Linked DNA regions of Homo sapiens: regions 1, 3 and 4 are each linked to region 2. Evidence: promoter capture Hi-C in 16 types of primary human blood cells and fetal thymus (Javierre and others, 2016). All regions are on one chromosome and are shown on one strand. The core of a region is centred on a gene start or on the middle of the fragment in contact, and the rest is flanking DNA. Distances in the headings are between cores, read along the strand shown. Region 1 overlaps LOC105371082 (a long non-coding RNA gene). Region 2 holds the start of TXNDC11 (thioredoxin domain containing 11). Region 3 overlaps LOC400499 (putative uncharacterized protein LOC400499). Region 4 overlaps RMI2 (RecQ mediated genome instability 2).

The links. Contacts are between HindIII fragments. The CHiCAGO score rates a contact against its expected background, and 5 or more counts as called.
Region 1: a contact is called between a fragment that was not itself captured here and the fragment with the promoter of TXNDC11 in region 2, in 1 of 17 cell types (activated CD4 T cells). The highest score is 5.1, in activated CD4 T cells.
Region 3: a contact is called between a fragment that was not itself captured here and the fragment with the promoter of TXNDC11 in region 2, in 5 of 17 cell types (naive CD4 T cells, naive CD8 T cells, monocytes and 2 more). The highest score is 6.4, in naive CD4 T cells.
Region 4: a fragment that was not itself captured here is called in contact with the fragment with the promoter of TXNDC11 in region 2 in 1 of 17 cell types (monocytes); the score reaches 5.5 in monocytes.

The regions. Positions count from the first base shown.
Region 1 is chr16:11,368,661-11,371,360 of GRCh38, forward strand. The region is part of intron 1 of LOC105371082 (a long non-coding RNA gene); the gene reads left to right. Among named protein-coding and RNA genes, the nearest start is that of RMI2, 25 kb to the left of the region's middle. RefSeq lists enhancers at 1,820-1,879, 2,065-2,565. The HindIII fragment of the contact is 1,153 bases long and covers 797-1,949 here.
Region 2 is chr16:11,741,419-11,744,127 of GRCh38, forward strand. TXNDC11 (thioredoxin domain containing 11) reads right to left here and starts at 1,439. Exons shown (of 12, transcript NM_015914.7): 1 at 1,059-1,439. The coding sequence starts at 1,312. It overlaps TXNDC11-AS1 (TXNDC11 antisense RNA 1), which reads left to right and starts at 1,596. Exons shown (of 1, transcript NR_186412.1): 1 at 1,596-2,709. RefSeq lists silencers at 887-1,556, 1,419-1,941. The HindIII fragment of the contact is 4,507 bases long and covers 701-2,709 here.
Region 3 is chr16:11,403,851-11,406,550 of GRCh38, forward strand. It overlaps LOC400499 (putative uncharacterized protein LOC400499), which reads right to left. Exons shown (of 67, transcript NM_001370704.1): 48 at 854-1,016. Among named protein-coding and RNA genes, the nearest start is that of RMI2, 60 kb to the left of the region's middle. The HindIII fragment of the contact is 554 bases long and covers 1,085-1,638 here.
Region 4 is chr16:11,350,900-11,353,713 of GRCh38, forward strand. It overlaps RMI2 (RecQ mediated genome instability 2), which reads left to right. Exons shown (of 2, transcript NM_152308.3): 2 at 1-861. All of the region lies in intron 1 of LOC105371082 (a long non-coding RNA gene), which reads left to right. Among named protein-coding and RNA genes, the nearest start is that of RMI2, 6.8 kb to the left of the region's middle. The HindIII fragment of the contact is 2,616 bases long and covers 1-2,558 here.

The DNA.
Region 1 (2,700 bases), core at 123-2,622, 370 kb before region 2:
CCCTCAGCAGCATTTGAAAGATTTCTTCATATGGATTGTGTGTGTATATTTTTGCACATTTATTTCTGAGAATTTTGTTTTTTGGGAGTGTGCTGTTGCAAATGGGATGTTTTCTTCTGTTAACTTTTCTAACTGCTTGTTTGTACATAGGAGGACTGAGGCCAGCCTTGGTGGCTCACATCTATAATCCTAGCACTTAGGGAGACTGAGGCAGAAGGACTGCTCGAGCCCAGGAGTTTGAGACCAGCCTGGGCATCATAGTAAGACCGCATCTTTATGTTATTTTTTTTTTGAGACAGGGTCTTTCTTTGTCACCCAGGCTAAGTGCAGTAATGCAGTCCCGGTTCACTGCAACCTCCATGTCCTGGGTTCAAGCAATTCTCATGCCTCAGCCTTCTGAGTACCCGGTATTACAGGTGTGTGCCATCACACCCAGCTAATTTTTGTATTATTAGTAGAGGTGGAGTTTTGCCATGTTGGCCAGGCTGGTACCGAACTCCTGGCCTCGAGCAATCCGCCTCTCTCGGCCTCCCAAAGTGCTGGGATTACAGGCGTGAGCTGTGCCCGGCCCCATCTCTATATTTTAAAAATTAAGAAAAAGGAAGGCTGCTTATTATGTTACTTTTGTACCTAACTCCTTAGCAAAATCTGTCTGCCTCATTTTTCAGAGTAAATTATTTTACCTCCTGCTTTTTTCTTAAATGTCTTACTTTCCTCCTTGCCTAGTTTCATCAGCTAGGGCCTCCAAAATAATAGTGGTAACAGAGGGCATTCTTTTGTTGCGAAGGTTAATGGAAGCTTCTGTTGCTTCCATCCCCTATAAATGATGCTGGGCTCTGGCTTGATGGGTGTGTGTCTGGGTGTAATTTCCTTTATCGTGTGTAATTTAAGGAAGTATCCCTCTTTCTAATTTGATGTGTTTTTTTCTAAATTTTGTAGTAAATTTTGTCAAATGCCTTTTCAACATCTACGATGATTATGATTTTTAACATATTAATATGAATGAAATTAGGCTGGGCGCAGTGGCTCACACCTGTAATCCCAGCACTTTGGGAGGCTGAGGCAGGCAGATCACAAGGTCAGGAGGTCAAGACCATCCTGGCTAACATGGTGAAACCCCATCTCTTCTAAAAATACAAAAAAGCTAGTCAGGTGTGGTGGCGGACGCCTGTAGTCCCGGGAGGGTGAGGCAGGAGAACTGAGTGAACCCAGGAAGCGGAGCTTGCAGTGAGCCTAGATCGCACCACTGCACTCCAGCCTGGGCAATAGAGCGAGACTCCATCTCAGGAAAAAAAAAAAAAAAAAAAAAATATGTGTGTATATATATATATATATATATATATATATATATATTTGAAATTAAAAGATGTTCTAATTTTGAGCTATCCTTGTCACACTGTACAATTCTCACTTGGTTTAGGTCACTTTTTTTTTAAGGCCCCAGTGGGGTTTGTTTGGTAATATTTTATTTTGGATTTTCTTACCTTGATTTGTATGTAAACATCTTACCTTGTTTTGTTTTGGAGATAGGGCCTTGCTCTGATGCCCAGGCTGGAGTGCAGTGGTGTGATCATAGTTGATTGTGATTTTGAACTCCTGGGCTCAAGTGATCCTCCTGCCTCAGCCTCCTAGACAGGCATGTGCCACCATGCCTGGCTAATGATTAAATTTTTTTAGAGACAGAGTCTTGCTATGTTGTCCAGGCTGGAGTTCAGTGTATATTGTAGACGTGAATTGGTCTTTCCGCTGGAATCATTCCCTCTCCTATCTGTTTCAAATTCATGCATAAGTACTCCACCCACACCCCCCAGTTGGAAAGTATTGATGTTGTCCAACCTGCCTTGAGAAGGGAGAACTATGTTTCCCTCTTTGTATCTCTGCTGGTGTCCAGTCCACTGCTGTGTTTTTGGTAAATACTTGACCCATAGAATGTGGGAGGCAGGAAGGAAAGCTTCTGCGTTTCCTTTCTGGACCAGAAATCATGGATCCGTTAAGCATATTGAGAAACCAACAGGTCAGGTGGCTGCACACTCTAGTTGCATCTGACTCTGAATTGCTCATGGGCCCCTGAGCACCAGTGATTTGCTTTTCTTTTATTGCAAAAGCAGAAGTGGGGGTTGAGTGAGCTTGGGCAGCCTTGGGAGGCAGGCAGGCCCGCGTCAGTGCCATCCTGGCTGTTTGTAGCTTGTATGACCTTGGGGAAATCCCCTCAACTCTCTGAGCCTTTGTTTCTTCTCTCATTAAGTGGGGATCATCCGTTCCTCATTGGACTATTGTAAGGCCTAAGATCAAACTTTTTTTTTTTTTTTTTTTTTGAGATGGAGCCTTCGCTCTGTCGCCCAGGCTACAGTGCAGTGGCACGATCTCCGCTCACTGCAAGCTCCACCTCCCGTGTTCACGCCATTCTCCTGCCCCAACCTCCCAAGTAGCTGGGACTACAGGAGCCCGCCACCTCACTCGGCTAATTTTTTGTATGTTTAGTAGAGACGGGGTTTCACCGTGTTAGCCAAGATGGTCTCGATTTGCTGACCTCATGATCCACCCACCTTGGCCTCCCAAAGTGCTGGGATTACAGGCGTGACCCACTGTGCCCGACCCAAACTTTTTTTTTTTTTTTTTGAGACGGAGTCTCACTCTGTCGCCAGGCTGGAGTGCAGTGGTGTGATCTTGGCTCACTGCAGTCTCCGCCTCCTGGGTTCA
Region 2 (2,709 bases), core at 189-2,688:
ACACCCCAGCCTACTGTCAGGCCTTTTTATCAATTCCAGGGAAACACCAAGCTTGCCCAGCCTCAGAAACTCTGCATTTGCTGTTCGCTCTACCGTGGACACGCTCCCCCGGGATCTTCCCAGCGCTGGTCCCTTCTCCTTTTTGTATAAGCTTCAAATGTCACTTCCTTAGGAAGTCTTTCCCCACCGCCATCGTTTCTATGCCCTGCATAGCACTGAAGCTTTAAAAAATTATATTTACTTGTTCACTGTCCCATCCACTCAAGGGAGCAAAAAGTTCACCCGGACGAGCGTCCGGCACATAGTAGGTGCAGATAAATAATCGTTAGATCAGGCCGGGTGCGGGGCTCTCGCCTGTAATCCCAGCACTTTGGGAGGCCGAGACGGGTGGATCACGTGAGGTCAGGAGTTCGAGACCAGCCTGGCCAACGTGGTGAAACTCTGTCTCTACTAAAAATACAAAAATTAGCCAGGCGTGGTGGCGCGCGCCTGTAATCCGAGCTACTCAGGAGCTGAGGCAGAAGAACCCCTTGAACCCGGGAGGCGGAGGTTTCAGTGAGCCGAGATCGCGCCACTGCACTCCTGCCTGGGACACAATGCGTGACTCCGTCTCAAAATAAAAATAATCGTTAGATCAATGAGTGCGGGAATTCTAAAAGGGGTCTGGAACTCTCGCAAGGTTGTGGATCACTACACCTGAAGCTTAAGGGGAATGAAATCGGTGAGAAATGAGGGTCCTACAGCCCGGGCCGAAGTGACAGGTCCACCCCTAGTGACTCCAACAGGTGAGGAGCACCCCCGACCCGCCTCCCTCGGCACTAAAGCGGGACGATAGGGCGCAGGGCTCCACCCGGAAGCCTCGCCATAATGTCCGCGGGCGGGCCGGGGCGAGGAGAAGGTGGGAAGCCGTGGCCGCAGGTTCCGGGAGGGGTCAGCCGTCCTGGGCAAGGTCAGGCCCGACTTCCCCGGCTGAGGCCGCTGCGACCCGGCCCTGCAGGCTCCAGGCGGCAGAGCAAGGGGAGCGCCCTAGCGGGGCCCCAGGGTCCGGGCCGCCTCACCTGCAGGTGAACTTGAGGGCGAGGAGCAGCGCGCAGCCGAGCGCCACGGCCCCGCAGAGCAGCTCCGGCCGCTGGCGCGCCATGAGGAAGGCGCCACGCAGCCCGCGACGGAGCCGGCCCGCCGAGGACGCTGTGGCCAGGGTCGGGCTCGAGCTGAGGCAGTCTGAGCCCGCGGGGCCGCCGCCGCCCCCTCCCTCGTCCTCGGCGTCCTCGCTGCTGCTGCTGCCGCCGCCGCGGCCTCCGCATTCCGACATTACATGCTCCCAGTCGCCGGCTTTATACCGCCGCCGCCGCCTCGGGCCCGAAGGCCCGGCCCGGCCCGTTGCTCCCCAATCCCGCAGCTCGCCGCACCCGCTAACCCGGACGCTCCACGTCAGCCGCGCCGCCGCCGCGGGGTCCGCCCCACCTCACACCCCAGAGCACGCAGCTCCGCCCACCGCTCACGGAGTCCGGGCGGGCACCGACACCGCCCAAATCCCCGCCCCCAACGGGCCACGCCCTGCACCCTACGTAAATGCACGGAAGCCTTCCCCGCCCGCAGCCCAGTCTTGGCCCCACCGGTCACGACCCCGCTCACGGAGTCTGCGCAGGCGCCGTCGCGGGGCGTGGAGAAGCTGCTCCCTTGGGATAAGGCCCGCGGGGAATACTTGGAACCTTGACACCGCTGTAGTCTGCTCTCGCCGCGCTGGGTTTTAGGAGCCGTAACGACAATAATCGTGTCCACCATTCTCACTACAGGCCCCGAAGCACGTAGGTGCCGTTTTTTATCCCAACTTAACTGAAGAAAAAAAAAACACGGCCGGGCGCGGTGGCTCAAGCCTGTAATCCCAGCACGTTGGGAGGCCAAGGCGGGCAGATTACATGAGACCAGGCGTTCAAGACCAGCCTGGCCAACATGGTGAAACCTCGTCTCTACTAAAAATACAAATATATTAGCCGGGCGTGGTGGCGGGCGCCTGTAATCCTAGCTGCTTGGGAGGCTGAGGCAGAGAATTGCTTGAACCCTGGAGGCGGAGGTTGCAGTGAGTGGAGATGGCGCCACTGCACTCCCGTCTGGGGGAGAGAGAGAGAGAGACTCTTGTCTCAAAAAAAAAAAAAGGACTTGTCCTCCAATGTCAATAACAACAAACTAGACAAATAAAACTTCGAGGGCATTAAGGCAATATGGTGTTATGCCACAAACAGAAGGCACAGCTAACGGCCAGTAGCTGAGACGCCACCTCTGCCACAGGTCAGCTATGTGACCCACGTGCAAATCTCATCACTTCCTGTCTGGTTCTGCTTCTGTGGATGTAGAATGGGGCAATCAATGGCTGTCTTGCTCAATTGGCCAGACATTTAATGTGTCAACCACCCAGGCCCAACATGTTGTGAGTTCATGTACACCGACCATTTTGCTATTTCTTTTCTATATGTCACTTTTTTTTTTTTTTTGGTTGTTTTTTGATACAGGGTCTTGTGTCACCCAGGCTGGAGTGCAATGGCGCAATCATAGCACACTGAAGCCTTGACAACCCCAGCTCAAGCGATCCACCCCCGTCAGCCTCCCAAGTAGTAGGCAACACAGATGTGTGCGACTACGCCCAGCTAATTTTTTTTTTTTGTGGAGACAAGGTCTCTCCATGTTGCCTAGGCTGGTCTTGAACTCCTG
Region 3 (2,700 bases), core at 112-2,611, 340 kb before region 2:
GCCACCTCTTCCACGCCCTGGCCCCTTCTCCCTGCCCGGCTGCACTCAGGATAAGCCCCAGCTCCTCTCTATGAGCTGAGACGCTGCATGACCTGGGTCCCCCAGCCCTCCTGCCTCGCCTCATCCCTTCTCCCCATTCCAGCCATGCTAGCCCCGCAGCTGCTGCTCCACATGCAAACCTCATTTCCAAGTGGGGCCTTCCGCCTGAAGTGCCTCTGCTCAGATCTGCCAGCTCCTTCTCATCCTTCAGAACTCAGTTCAGAAGTCACCTCCTCCAAGAGGCCTTCCCAGACCACCCCACCTAAAGGAGGCCCACACCCCACAAAGACCCTGCTTGCTCTCACAGCCTTTCCCACTCGTGGAAATGGTCATGCTTGACGTTATTTTGCTTATGTGCATCTTGTTGCTCAATGCCTGTCTCCCTGAGGGGTGACACCTGGGCCATCTTGCTTCCTGATGGACCCCTGGTGCCTAGATTACACCTGGGATATGCAGGTGCTCAGTCATGGCTTTTTTGAGACCGAGTCTCACTCTCGCTCAGGCTGGAATGCACTGGCTCAATCTCGGCTCTCTGCAACCTCTGCCTCCCAGGTTCAAGCGATTCTCCTGCCTCAGCCTCCCAAGTAGCTGAGATTGTAGGTGCCTGCCACCATGCCTGGCTAATTTTTGTATTTTTAGTAGAGATGGGGTTTCACCATGTTGGCCAGGCTGGTCTCAAACTCCTGACCTCGAGTGATCTACCCACCTCGGCCTCCCAAAGGGCTTGGATTACAGGCATGAGCCACCGCGCCTGGCCAGGGATGATTTCTTGAGTGACTGGGCCACCCCTGCCTGCAGCCCCTCACACACTCACCCTGCAGGCTGAGGTTCCTGGTGGGCTTGGGGAAAGGCCCAGAAAGGCTCCCGGTGAGGGCCACCTCCTGGCCATCCCACAGCACCACCTGGCGCAGGACACGGGTCCCATGAGCTCGCTCGTATGCGGTCTGCAGGAACAGCTCCCTGGGAAGAGCGCTGAGCTGGAAGAGAATGACGGCGTCATGGGGGAACCCGACCCATGCTTCTGCCTGGGATGGGAAAGAAGAGAAGCTTGCAGAGGAGGAAAAAGGGAATATTTGTGGATCATTTACAGTTTCCTGAATGGTGACATATGTCAGGGGATCAAAAACCCAAATGCTTCCTAAGGATGAGCAGATAATTTAAAGGAGAGGAGTAGGTGAGGGGAGTATGGCCAACAGGAGACAGCACAGAACAGCCACTTCTCAATTCCATGGCCAAGCTGTGTGGCTCTGGGCATTTTTCAACCTCTCTGAGCCTCAGTTTCCTAGAAAATGGAGGCCAGAAAGTGTCAACCTTTGCAAGATGATACAAGTGGTGCACTCAGCCCAGGGCTACACGGTGGAGAGGAGCTTGTAGGAGGCACGCAGTTGGTATTGCGGTTTCTCAATCATGTAGCGAGCAGGTATCATGCTCCCAAGCCAGTGCTGAGTGCCTGGGTACAAAGCTAGCCAAGACCTGGTCCTGGCCCTTAAGGGGCTCCCAGGGAGATAGTCGAGATAGTCACAGGACAGAAAATGATGGGATAAGGTGACAAGGATGGTCACAAGAGACATTCAAGGGAGAAAGGAACGCAGAGAAGCAAGCTTGGGGAGGAGGCAGGGAAGAGCATTCTAGGCAGATGGAAGAGCCTGTGCAAAGGTTCGGAGAGGGACGCCGTCCCTGCTGGTGGGTGCCACAGTCCGAGGGTGACTTGAGGGCACTGCAGGGGGACTGCTGGGGTGGGGAAGGAAGTTTGCTCTTAAACGTCTCTAAAACCTATCACTACTGCCCCCAGCTTGGTCCACGCATTATTATTGCCCTGCCCCTGCCCATTATGGGGCTTCCTCACTGCTCACTTCTGCCACCTGTAGGTCCCTCCCCACACAGCAGCCAGAGGGATCTGAAATCATCATTTATTTGATCATGGCTTCAAAGGCTTCTAGTAGCAGATAGAACACAATGCAAACGCCTCCCTGTGGCCTGACTGACCCTGTGTGATCAGACCACCTCCTACCATTCCCCACCCACCCAGCTCCAGCCCAGTGGCTCCTTGGCCATTCCTAAAACATGCAAACCCATCCCTGCCCCAGGCCCTTTGCATGTCTTGTTCCCTCTGCCTGGAATACTCTTTTTAAAAAATGTATTTTAGATTGAGGGGGTCAGTGTGCATGTTTGTTACATAGGTATATTGTGTAATGGTGGGGACTGGGCTTCCAGCGTCCCTGTCACCCAAATATCGAACATCATACCAGGCAGGTAATTTTCCAACCCTTGGCTCCCTCTCACCCTCCTCCCTTTTGGAGCCCTCAGTGTTTACTGTTTCCATCTTTATGTCCATGTGTATTCAATGTTTAGCTCCTGCTTACAAGTGAGAACATGTGATACTGGGTTTTCTGTTTCTGAGCTAGTTCACTTAGGATAATTGCATCCCTGCTGCTGCAAAGGACAGAATTTCATTCTTTTTTCCGGCTGTGTAATATTCCATGGTGTATATATACCACAGTCTCTTTACCTGCCTCGAATGCCCCTCCCCCAGAGATTTCTTTTTTCTTTTCTTCCTTTTGAGATGGAGTTTCACTCTTGTCACCCAGGCCGCAGTGCAACGGCGCAATCTCGGCTCACTGCAACCTCCACATCCTGGGTTCAAGCAATTCTCCTGCCTCA
Region 4 (2,814 bases), core at 1-2,500, 390 kb before region 2:
TCAGAGAGCCTTGCTTTGGTTGACCAAGGAGTCCGGATGTAGGAATGTTTAAATCCTCGGATACTTCAGTGACACAGCCTCTGCTGCCCCTTGCTTTGCCTGTGTTTGCTGATGAAAAGCAGATGCTTGTGTTTCATTTTCCTTCCTGGTTTGTGTGTGTTAATTCTCTCTCTCTCTCTCAGACACAGAAGTCTCATGTTGCATTTTCCAAATTTTATGAGTGATGATACTTTTTCCATTACTGCTGCGTCCCTGTTTTACAATGCAAAATTTAAGTACGGTCGTTGCCCATGGTGATTAAAGTGTGGTTATGGGCAGGAAGACAGACTGTGTAAAAAAGGAATGACATCCTGGCTCCTCATCTTCTTCATCAGCAACTACCATAACCAGTTTGCGAGTCAAATGGCATTTCCTAACGGCAGGCATGGCGGCCCCTGAAAGACAACAGCTCCCTTTCTGCTTCGGACACCACTCAAACATTTAGACGCAGCTCTATCCCTTTTCCTAGCTAGAGAAGGTGATGCCTTCTTCCATTACTCAGAGATGTTGAGACGTTTTCAGAATTTCTTGTTGAAATGAAAAACATCAAGATAAAGGACGCCTTTCAGGCATTAGCTAAACTTCCACTTCATAACTTTCGGCGAGACATGGTGAGCCTCCTGGTGTAGAGTTCTTTTGTCTTTGTATGGAATGACTTTTTGCTGTGATGGTTTTGAATGTTGGGTTTCTGCTGTCTGCTTAGTACCCATGCCTGAATTTTTTGAGATTGTAAATATCAAAGGAGTTAGATTGTGTTCTGACATGGTTGTAGACTTTCACCTGGATTATTGATATTCTACCTCTAATAAATTTTTAATAGGCTGTATGAGTTTTTTTTTTTAATGGACTTAAGAAAACAGTTTTAGGTGTTCAGGAAAATAGAGGAGAAACTACAGCGTTCGCATATACTCCACACACCCCACTCCCAGTTTTTCCAGCTATGAACATCTTTTATTAGGATGGTACATTTGATAAACCAACATTACATTCTTATTAACTAAAGTTTAGTTTACATTAGGCTTTATTCCTTCTCTTATACATTCTGTGGATTTTGCCAAATGCATAATAACATGTATCCACCACTACAGTATCGTCCAGAATAGCTTCACTGCCCTAAAAATCCTCTGGGTTCCCCTTATTCACCCCTCCCCACCAACCCTGACAGTCACTGATCTTTCTTTTCAGTTTTGCCTTTTCCAGAATATCATATAGTTGGATCATACAGTAAGTAATTTTTTCAGACTGGCTTCTTTCATTTACTATGCATATAAGATTCCTCCATATCTTTTTTTTTTTTTCTTTTTTAAGACAATCTCAGTCTTGCCCAGGCTGGAGTGCAAGGGCACAATCACAGCTCACCACAGCCTCAACCTCTCAGGCTCAGGATCCTCCCATCTCAGCCTCTCAGGTAGCAGGACTACAGGTGCGCATCACCTTGCCTGGTTAATTTTTTTGTATTTTTTGTAGAGACAAGGTTTTGCCATGTTGCCCAGGCTGGTCTCAAACTCCTGGGCTCAAGCAATCTTCCCATCTTGGCCTCCCAAAGTGCTGGGATTACAGGTGTGAGCCATTGTGTCTGGACTCCTCCAGGTCTTTTTGCAGCTTGTTAGCTTTTTTTTTTTTTTTTTTTTTTCAATAAATGCCCGTGCTTATTACAAGATAGAAACATGAAGAATTCCTTAGGTACTGTTTTTTTTTTTTTTTTTTTTTTTGAGACAGAGTCTAACCCTGTCACCCAGGCTGGAGTGCAGTGGTGTGATCTCTGCTCACTGCAACCTCTGCCTCCCGGGTTCAAGCGATTCTCCCGCCTCAGCCTCCTGAGTAGCTGGGATTACAGATGTGTGCCACCACACCCAGCTAATTTATTTATTTATTTATTTTGAGTTTTTTATTTTTGTTTGTTTGTTTAAGATGGGGCCTTGCCCTGTCACCCAGGCTGGCGTACAGTGGCGTGAACGTGGCTTACTGCAGCCTCAACCTCCCAAACTCAAGCAATCCTCCCATGTCATCCTCCTGAGTAGCTGGTACTACAGGCACAAATTCCTCGGCTCAAGCAATCCTCCCACCTTGGCCTCCCAAAGTGCTGGGATTACAGGTATGAGCCACCACGCCCAGCCAGCTCATTTCTTTTTATCACTGAATAATGTTCCATTGTATGGATGTACCATAGTTTTATCTAATCCACCTATTGAAGGACATCTTGACTCCAGTCTCTGATAACTATGAATAGAGCTGCTGTAAACATTCATGCCCAGGTTTTGAGTGGGTGTAAGTTTTCAGCTCATTGGGGTAAATGCCTAGGAGTGCAATTGCTGGGCCATATGGTAGACCTATGGTTAGCCTTGTAGAAACTGCCAGTCTGCTTTTGCATTCTCACCAGCAATGAAGGGGAGTCACTGTTCCACATCGTCTCCAGCACTGAGTGTTGTCAGTGTCTCGGGTGTGCTGTGCTTTTAAACTATTTTCTTTTTAAAGCCGGGCAGATTGGAAAGTATGCATCATTTTTGTTGCCCACAAGAAGCTTGTTTTGAACTGTTTTATGTTCACAGTTTGGGATTTTTCGGGCAATATTGCTGAGCTTTAACAGGAACTTTGCAGTCCTGTCAACCTGAATTTGAGCCCTTCATTTGCAAGTAACCTTGCCGTGTGACTATGAGCAAGGTACGTAACCTCTCCATTGTTCAGTTTCTTTATCTGTAAAATGCAGATTATGCCCAGCTCATAGCACTGGTGTGAGGAATAAATGAAGATGTAGATCACTTTTACATGGTATGT